Regions from separate parts of the Homo sapiens genome. Here regions 1 and 2 are each linked to region 3. Evidence: promoter capture Hi-C in 16 types of primary human blood cells and fetal thymus (Javierre and others, 2016). All regions are on one chromosome and are shown on one strand. The core of a region is centred on a gene start or on the middle of the fragment in contact, and the rest is flanking DNA. Distances in the headings are between cores, read along the strand shown.

The links. The method cuts DNA at HindIII sites, captures the fragments that hold promoters and counts their contacts. A CHiCAGO score of 5 or more calls a contact.
Region 1: the fragment with the promoter of DORIP1 here is called in contact with the fragment with the promoter of RPS29 in region 3 in 2 of 17 cell types (naive CD4 T cells and M0 macrophages); the score reaches 8.4 in naive CD4 T cells.
Region 2: a contact is called between a fragment that was not itself captured here and the fragment with the promoter of RPS29 in region 3, in 1 of 17 cell types (M2 macrophages). The highest score is 6.2, in M2 macrophages.

What each region holds. Positions count from the first base shown.
Region 1 is chr14:44,895,732-44,899,076 of GRCh38, reverse strand. DORIP1 (dopamine receptor interacting protein 1) reads right to left here and starts at 1,802. Exons shown (of 5, transcript NM_001017923.2): 1 at 1,509-1,802. It overlaps LOC101927418 (a long non-coding RNA gene), which reads left to right. Exons shown (of 3, transcript NR_110050.1): 3 at 1-169. RefSeq lists silencers at 1,148-1,467, 1,488-1,617 and enhancers at 984-1,483, 2,108-2,157. The HindIII fragment of the contact is 3,873 bases long and covers 1-2,143 here.
Region 2 is chr14:52,697,859-52,701,190 of GRCh38, reverse strand. No RefSeq gene overlaps it. Among named protein-coding and RNA genes, the nearest start is that of ERO1A, 4.0 kb to the right of the region's middle. The HindIII fragment of the contact is 2,803 bases long and covers 85-2,887 here.
Region 3 is chr14:49,584,808-49,587,941 of GRCh38, reverse strand. RPS29 (ribosomal protein S29) reads left to right here and starts at 1,562. Exons shown (of 3, transcript NM_001032.5): 1 at 1,562-1,657; 2 at 1,893-1,992. The coding sequence starts at 1,596. It also overlaps RN7SL1. RefSeq lists enhancers at 1,002-1,511, 1,384-1,883, 2,482-2,531. The HindIII fragment of the contact is 6,928 bases long and covers 526-3,134 here.

The DNA.
Region 1 (3,345 bases), core at 553-3,052, 4.7 Mb after region 3:
GTTACTTTTATGGAGAAGTATTGTTATGAAAAAAGGGAGGCATCTGAGGAGTGGAAACAGAGAAATGAGTGACTGAGATCAGTGTCTTATTTTGACCATCTTTTCCAAGTGCTGCATCCTCCCAAACACAACATGAACTCAACACTTAATAAAGCTGCAGTCCTACGTGTTTTATTTGTGTAAGAAACTAAGTCCAAAACATTCTGCAACGCGAGTAAAAATTCACTTCTGCAATATATTAAACACACATGAACACAGTGTTTTCAGTTTGAAGCAAGATACTGTGGACTCTAAAATATCCAGTAACTATATTTAGTATGAAGAGTGGATGTTTATATCTAGTTGGCCAACACATTGATTCTAGTCATCCACTTAGGAAGAAGAGGGTGTGGCAAATCTGCAGCCTAGGAAAACACAAACTCAGTTTCTTCGTAATAGATACTGATTCGTTTTGTTTACAAAGATTTTAAAAAACAGTTATGCATTCAAATACTTTAAAAACGAAAATAACTTTATGGTTTGATTTATTTCCGTTGAATTTTAAAGAACTTTGTAGCAAGGTTTAAGATTGCTTAAAGAGCCTGAGTTCGGATTCCTAAAATAGTGCATTGGGAAGGAAGCATAAATCTCTAGGATATTTTCTTCACATTATCTTCAGACATGACCAAATGAAGTGTAACTACCCTTACACTCTAAGAGAATTAAACTATAATGACATATGTGGCATGAAACTTTAGTCTTTCTCTGGAAAAAACGGGAGGAGGGAAGGTTTGGAAGAACTAGAGGATACTAGTTTCATCATGAATTTGGTGATTTGTTCCAAAGTAAATTGCAATAAAAATGAGGGGTGGGGAAAAATGATGGAAAGATAGCTGTGAAGAGCTTTACTTAAAATTGTCTTAGCTGTTTAGCTAGGAACTGTAATTAGAAGGACTGGAGGATGTATTCCGCTGGCTTTATTCTCCAGGCTCTACGGGCCCTCCAATTTGAATAAACCTGGAAAACTCTCCTGACCTCTATTTCTTTGACAAAACATCTTTCTTTCGTGGTGACTTCCAAGGGAGGAAATTGGTACCCCAAGCTAGCCGTGAGGACCCCACCACATGCCCAAGGCATTGAACGCCAGACTCCCTAAGGACTCAGGGATTCTAAAAGTCCCCTCTCAAATCAGCGCCTAAAATACGCCTGTACAGCCACGCGCTACCGCTCCCAGCAGCGCGGGACTTCGGGACAGGGACAAGGCGGACGCTAGGCGTGCGCCCCCGGGGAGCCCCCACGTTCCGGCCACGCCCACCCTGGCCCTGGGCAGCCGCGCCCGGGAGGCCTGGCACCGAGGCGGGCGGGTCCCCGAGTTAGGGGCCCGCGAGTCGGCTGGGCGCCCCCGCCTCTGCCCGGGCAGTGCCCCGCCGAGTGCTCAGAACTGCGGACAAATAGGCTGGAGGGCCGGGCCGCGGAAGGCGTTCCCACACCGGCCAGTCTCCGTCCACCAGGAAGCAAACTCCTCGTACCTCCCTGGGGACCGAAAACTGCCGGTGCCGCCGCACCCGTCGCCGCCGCCGCCTGCTCATGGAGAGCCCGGGCTGCCGCCGCCGCCGCCGCCGCCGCTGCCTCATCTATGAGTACCGCCGGCTGTCTCGGCCTCCCCCGGCGTGAGTTCTGGGCTCTGGCATGGCCTCCATGGCAGCCGCCGCGGCGGGAGCCACAGCAGCTCCAGCGCCCAGGCCCAATCTCACTGGACCCACGGAGCCAGGACAGTGGGACACGTCGCTTCTTATTACGGAGGAAGATTCGGCACGACCTCCGCCCCCCTCCCCCCAACCCCCCCGTTTTCAGCCGCCTGACAGCGCAGCTGCGCAGGCGCGAAGACGCCCCAGCCTAATGTGCGTGTGTCGGCTGTGTATACAGCATCCAGATTCGCCCAATGGGAACCAGGATCAGGTGTGGGGGGCGGGACCTCGCAGAGAGGGGCGGGGTTCCACTGGTAGAAGGTGGGTGGGGAAGCCGGAAGTGGGCAGAGTTTGCACGGAGGCGGAGCTTTATTGGCAAACCTGATTGGCTTTTTGAGGTTTGTACCATTTTAGGACTTGATTTTAGTTTGCTTCTGGGTCTTGTTTTCTCAAATTCTTAACCTAGAAAGAAAGCTTTGTTTTCTCAGTAAATTACGGTTTTTTAAGCGTTTAAGTATTTACTTAGAAAACAGTTGAATTGATCTGTTAAATGCCAGCTTTAGTGTTCAAGTTAATTATTGGCCAATATACTGTAACTTACAGTGGAAGTTAACCCCATTTTGAAAAATTAGATTGTTTTAATTCCATTGTGAAGTTGAAAAAATTGGGTTTTGGAGATAATAAGGTCCCACACAGCAAGTGACGGAGCTGGAAATTACAGTTAGGACAACTTAATGCTAGTTTGTGGGCTCAACCACTATTTCTGTTTATTAGGGCCGAGTTTTTGTATCTCCCGTAAAGAAGCAAGGCCCTGTATGGCTCTGCATCTGGAGAACACAGGCCACCCTGCAAAAACTACCTCTCCTTGCAAGTAGGCATGGAGATCTGGTTGAGATTTTCCCCATCCAGCCTTTCAACAAATAATGAGGGTCTGGAAAGTTAGCTCTAACGTTCAGAACACGTGAGGGCTAATGAGAGAGCTCAAGGCTATCCTAGTAAATCAGTGTGGTTTTCCGTCACAGGCTGAGCCTGGGAGAGGCTGGATGCCTTCTTGACCGGTGTGATGGTCGGCCAAAGCTATGGAGGGGAACTTCCTCATGGATCTCTCTAAAAAAGTCTAGAAATGGAAGAGAGACTTCCATTTCTTGAGTTTTGGCTCTGCCCAAAAAAGAATAATTAATAGCTCTGGCAAAGCCTGCTCTTTTTAGTTTCCTGTTTTTTCTTATTTCTTATGGTATTTTATAGATGAGGAAACTGAGGCTCTTAGAGATAAACTAGTGTGTTGGAAAACTTGCAAAAAGTTCACTCTCAATATTAATCCTCTCCTACAGGTAGAAAAGCCCTTTAAAAATGTTTGTAAATGTGGATTATGTGTTTAATTATAAATCTCTCACAAGACATGGAGTTCATTTTATACTGATTAGGTCATTCTCTTCCTGAAAACAGCCATAGTATGGTGGATGACACCATTTCTGGAGAATAGTATTGAGATTGCTCATTAAACTCTGCCGAGTCTCAGCTAGATGGAGGAAGCATGGATTCCTTGAATACTTGGATAACTCACAAACATCACTGAGGCCTTTAACTGAAATTTCCATTCTGCATCTTTTCCACCGTCTTCAAAATCTGACATCTGAGTTGTAGGGTTTTTTTAGATATATTTACTGAAGTATAATTG
Region 2 (3,332 bases), core at 237-2,736, 3.1 Mb before region 3:
CCTTTCTTTGTACTAATTTATTTCCTTTAAATTGTTTTCTTCCAGTCTATTCAATGACAGAAATTGTATGGGTACTGAGAAGCTTCCCACAGAAATCCCCACATACCATTTTGAGACACTGGACTCAAGCCATTTCCTGCTTTGGTCATAAAAAAAAAAATAGTCGCTGTTATTTACACAGTAATCAGAATTCCATCAGGAAATGCTGTGTGCATTAAATCTAAGTCATGTTATTGTTATAATCACTAGTATTAGAAAAACAAGTTTGTGACCTTGTTCATCTCTAAAAAATTTAATGTTGTTTAGCAAAGTTGTAATGAATGGGAAGTTGGGCTTTCAGAAATCAAAGGTTGATCTATGTACCCTGTGGGTGCTCTTTAAATAGTTAATGAATGACTAATCAGTGATTTCATGGCCTCTAACACAGGTGAGACGATTGCCTGAGCAGGTATATTTGAAGAAGCAAACTCATGCAAAGGGAGTTTCCTTCTGGCCTGAAAGATTCTCATGGACACTTCAGTGATATTCACATCACACACATAAAACTGTATTTACTTATTCTAAAATCGCTTACAAATCTGAAACAAAACATTATAATTATCTAGACAATAAGGTAAAAAAAGTGGATACTTTTTCTAAGTTTGCTAGAAATTTATTCTGGGAAAGAGTTTGAGTTTTATGGAAAATAATTTCTATCATGAGAACACTGACATTTTTAAGCTCCCCCAGGTTACAGGTCATTGCATTAGGGTAAAATGTTAAGCTGATTCATATTCAGATTGCTTCCTTCTAAAATCATAGGCTTTATTAATTTCCTCTTTTCTTATTGTGTTTCTCATTTTTGATGGCCTAATCTTCATTTATTAGTACTGTGGCCAGTGAAAGATTTTCATTTATTCCACGAACATGTACAAAGACAAGATCCTTGTTAAGGATCTCTGGGAGTCTCAGGGACATTTGAAACACAATCCCTGCTCAAGAAGTTTAAAGATGTTACAATTCAGTGAAGAAATATGAAGTAGAAAATATCATAAAAGATTATATACTAATGCTGAAATGAACATGGGAGTGCAGATATTTCTTTGACATACAAATTTTATTTTTATTTTTAAGACAGAGTCTCGCTCTGTCACCCAGGCTGGAGTACAATGGCATGATCTCAGCTCACTGCAACCTCCGCCTCCCAGGTTCTAGAAATTCTCTCACCTCAGCCTCCCGTGTAGCTGAGACTACAGGCACACACCACCATGCCTGGCTAATTTTTTGTATTTTTAGTGTAGACGGGGTTTCACCATGTTGGTCCGGCTGGTCTTGAACTCCTGACCTCAAATGATCTGCCCGCCTCAGCTTCCCAAAGTGCTGGGTCAGGCGTGAGCCACCATGCCCAGTCTGACACGCCAATTTTAATACCTTTGTATATACACCCAGAAGTGGGATTGCTGGATCATATGGTAATTCTATTTTTAGTTGTGTGTGTGTTTTTTTTTTGTCTGCTTTGTTTTGTGAGATGGAGTCTCGCTCTGTTGCCCAGGCTGGAGTGCAGTGGCGCGATCTCGGTTCACTGTAACCTCTGTCTTCCAGGTGCAAGCAATTCTCCTGCCTTAGCCTCCAGAGTAGCTGGGACTACAGGCACGTGCTGCCACGCCCAGCTAATTTTTGTATTTTTAGTAGGGACGGGGTTTCACCGTGTTAGCCAGGATGGTCTCCATCTCCTGGCCTCATGATCTGCCTGCCTCGGCCTCCCAAAGTGCTGGGATTACAGGTGTGAGCCACCGTGCCCGGCCTATTTTTAGTTTTTTGAGGAACCTCCATACTATTTTTCAAAATGGCTGTACTAATTTACATTCCCACCAACAGTGTACAAGTGTTTCCATTTTTCCACATCCTTTCCAGCACCTGTTATCATTCATCATTTTGGCAATAGCCATTCTAACAGGTGTAAGGTGACATCTCATTGTGTCTTTAATTTGCATTTCCCTGATGATTAGAGATATTAAGCATTTTTTTCCTATACCTGTTGGCTATTTGTATGTCTTTTTTTGAAAAATAACTGTTCAGAACCTTTGCTGCTTTTTAAAAATCAGACTATTTTCATAACATTGATTTGTTTCTTATACTCCCATGTTCATTTCTGCATTATTTACAATAGCCAAGATATAGGAACAACCTAAGTGTTCATCGACAGATGAATGGATAAAGAGAATCTTGTATATATATGCCTACTATACAGCCATAAAGAAGGAAATTATTCCCAGTACTTTGGGAGGCCGAGGCGGGCGGATCACGAGGTCAGGAGATCGAGACCATCCTGGCTAACATGGTGAAATCCCGTGTCTACTAAAAATACAAAAAAATTAGCCGGGAGTGGTGGCGGGCGCGCCTGTAGTCCCAGCTACTTGGGAGGCTGAGGCAGGAGAATGGCGTGAACCCGGGAGGCGGAGCTTGCAGTGAGCGAGATCGTGCCACTGCACTCCAGGCTGGGTGACAGAGCGAGACTCCGTCTCAAAAAAAAAAAAAAAAAGGAAATTCTGTAATTTGTGACAATATGGATTAACCTAGAGGCCATGATACCAAGTGAAATAAGCCAGGCACAAGAAAACAATTACCACATAATCTCACTTACATGTGGAATCTAAAAAAGTTTATCTCATAGAAACAGTAGAAAGGTAGTCACCAGAGGCCGGTGGGCAGGGAGGATGGGGAAAGGGGAGATGTTGGTCAAAGTGCAAAGTTTCAGTTAGACTGCAGGAATAAGTTTTAGTGATCTAATGCACTGCATGGTGACCACAGTTAATAAGAATTGCAAAATTGCTAAAAGAATAATTTTTTAATGTTCTCATCAATGAAAAATGAAAAGTTGGTGAGGCAATGTATCTGTTAATAAGCTTTATTTAATCTTTCTACAATGTATGCATAGATCAAAACATCCCATTGTATCCTATAAATATACACAATTATTATTTGTCAATTAAATATTTTTTAAAAAGTACATACTAAGTTCCATGGATGTCTCTCCAAGTGTAGGAACTGGACCTTATACATCTTTGTATCCCAAATGTCAAGCTCAGCTTGTCACAGAGTAAGTTTACTGAATTGAAATCATTGAGAGACTGGAACTGGGTTAGGAGGAAACCAGGAAGACGACTTAAGACAGGGAGAACATGACCTGGGTCTGGCCCTAAAAAGGATAACTGGGGCCTGTATATAGGAATATGAAAAAGAGCTTTTGGCCAGGTGCGGTGGCTCACGCCTGTAATCTCAGCACTTTGGGAGTCCAAGGCAGGCGAATCACGAGGTCAGGAGGTTGAGACCATCCTGGCTAACATGGTGAA
Region 3 (3,134 bases), core at 313-2,812:
TTCTATTCTAGTTACACAAAGTTGTTCACCTTACCTTGGCTCAAGCGCTTCCTTTCACCAGGCATTCCCTTCTGTCAAGTGCTGCCTGTAGAAATCCCATTCTTCAAGGTCTACCTCAAAGGTCTCTCAAATGTACCTCGAACTGGAATTAATTTCTCTTCTTGGCTCCTTTCGTACTTCATGAGCACACCCATGATTTAATACAGAATATTTTCCTTAGCTGTACATATGTTGTTGGTGCACAAACGTTGTATGTTGAAGTCTTGGAGATAATCCTGTTTCCCACAGATTAGAAAATTTTGAGGGCAAGGAGCAAGTTATATCTAGTTTACAAATCTCTGACTCCCCTCCTTCCTTAATCATATAATACAATGCCTAACTTAATGATTGGGTAGGGGGACCCCACTAGAACCCTGACATAACATACCTTAAAGAAGTGTTGTATTTCAATTTATAAAAGTTTATATGTAAAAGTTTCTGGAATTGTTGCACCCTGTGCTACATTTTATAAATCTAGTTAAAGCTTTGATTTCAGAGCAGTTTTATCTGGAGGCATTATAAATGACCATATGGAATGTAGGTATCTTTCAGCAGAAATTCGTTTATTGACATTGGTTTTTTGCATTTTTGCATTTGCTTTTCATTACTTGTTTTGTCACCAAATTATCTGGTCAAAGCAACATACACTGCACATTACTTGTTTATTACTTTACATTCAGCCAATTACATTTAAGAATCAAATACACTAAATGCCAAAGAATCTCATTTTTTTTTGGAATGGTGTAGGTGTATTTCTTGGAGGAGTGTGTCAAAAAAATAAATTTGAAAACGTACTCTCTTTAACAAAATAAAAGCAAACCCTACCGTTGACTCGTGATCATTACAGCTGATTTTAAGTTGTTTTGTAAATTTATTCCAGTAGGTGTCACTGGTGAGTCGAGGAAAAACTCCTTTCCCAAGTGTAACGTTTTAATTAAAAGAAAGTAAAAGGTTTAATCAATAAAAAAGACTATGAGAATATTCATCTCTTGAGAGTCCAAAATTAACGTATTTATTGTTCAAAAGAGACGGGGTCTCGCTATGTTGCCCAGGCTGGAGTGCAGTGGCTATTCACAGGCGCGATCCCACTACTGATCAGCACGGGAGTTTTGACCTGCTCCGTTTCCGACCTGGGCCGGTTCACCCCTCCTTAGGCAACCTGGTGGTCCCCCGCTCCCGGGAGGTCACCATATTGATGCCGAACTTAGTGCGGACACCCGATCGGCATAGCGCACTACAGCCCAGAACTCCTGGACTCAAGCGATCCTCCAGCCTCAGCCTCCCGAGTAGCTGGGACTACAGGCACGCGCCACCGCGCCCGGCGGTCGGATACCGGCGCAGAATAGCACTAGAAGCTGTGGTATGGTGACGTCATCAACTGGGCCAGCCCACAACGCCTCTAAGATTTCATTTTACTCACCCAGCGAAACAACCTGACCACACTGCGCACGCGTTTCCTTTGAGCACTGCATTCTGGGTAAACTGTCTCAAAAATTTGAAGAGCGCATGCGTGGGCCAGCTTCTTCCTTTTACCTCGTTGCACTGCTGAGAGCAAGATGGGTCACCAGCAGCTGTACTGGAGCCACCCGCGAAAATTCGGCCAGGGTTCTCGCTCTTGGTGAGAAATAGTTTGTGATTTTGGGGAAGCGTTGCCGTGGAGCGCTAGGCTGCTTAAAATCTCAAGTAGAGGAGGCCACGGGCGGCACGAGGGAGCACGCCGACTGGGAGTCGCTGGTGCCGCCATTACAGGCCTGTACTGTGGCTTGGGAGTCCCGGGATGCGGGTAGTAGCCGTCTGAGTGCGGAGTCTTGTAATTTCTATGACCTGCAAAACCGCTGTCTCTTTTCTTACAGTCGTGTCTGTTCAAACCGGCACGGTCTGATCCGGAAATATGGCCTCAATATGTGCCGCCAGTGTTTCCGTCAGTACGCGAAGGATATCGGTTTCATTAAGGTAGGCGTCTGCAGGCGTACTCCATGTTGTTTGGGCAGAGAAGGTTGTGGGGGTTATTTTTTCCGCGAAAGACAAACGGACAGATCTTCCCTGGAGTGGTAATTCTGAGCATTCGACCAAGAGCTTTTCCTCTTTTTTTAGTTGGTAGCTGGTGACAGTGTTGATGGTTTGGGCAATCAAATTAATAGAATGGAGAAGGTGAAGGACTTAGTCTTTCCTACTCCCTTTTTTACCTAGATAGCTTAGCCAGTTTTAGGTGCCGTGTATTGTGTTTGGTGAAATTCACTTTAGAGAAGCCACTAAAATTGTTTTACATTTGTTTCATTTATCAATCTTGTAAGTACCTATTCTCTTTTTTTTTTTTTTAGAGATAGGGTCTCCCTCTGTCGCCCAGGTTGAAGTGCAGTGGCGTTGTTACGGCTCACTGCAGCCTCGAACTCCTCCTGGTCTCAGGCGATCCTCTTGCCTTGGCGTCCCGAGTAGCTGGGACTAAAGGCTCTTGCCACCACGCGCGGCTGTACCTAGATATTTTCTAACCAAATATATGTATTAACCGCTGACCCCAAGTTTTTTTTTTTTTTTTTTTGAGTCGGAGTCGCACTCACCCAACCTGGAGTGCGATGGCGTGATCTCCGCTCAGTGCAACCTCCGCCTCCCCGGTTCAAGCGATTCTCCTGCCTCAGCCTCCTGAATAGCTGGGATTACAGGCGCCTGCCACCATGTCCGGCTAATTTTTTTATTTTTAGTAGAGACGGGGTTTTACCATGTTGGTCAGGCTGGTCTCGAACTGCTGACCTCGTGATCCGCCTGCTTCGGCCTCCCAAAGTGCTGAGATTACAGGCGTGAGCCACCGCGCCCGGCCAACCCAAAATGTTTGAAAGCGTCATACACTGGAATGAACTTAAAGTTTGGGGCCGGAAAGACATTGTTAAGATTCAGCAAACAATGGTCTGCCATTTAGTGCTTCTATCTCTTGATCATCTTAGTCAAGCTAGTGTTTATATGAAACTTTTGACTGTGAAACTTTTGGCTTCTGAAAATCTTTTAAATAGTAGTTTGGGTTTTTTTTTTTAAGGTGAAAACGAATTTATTATTGGCTCTTTGAGATAAAAATCACCAGCTTTCTGATCAATTATTTTGTA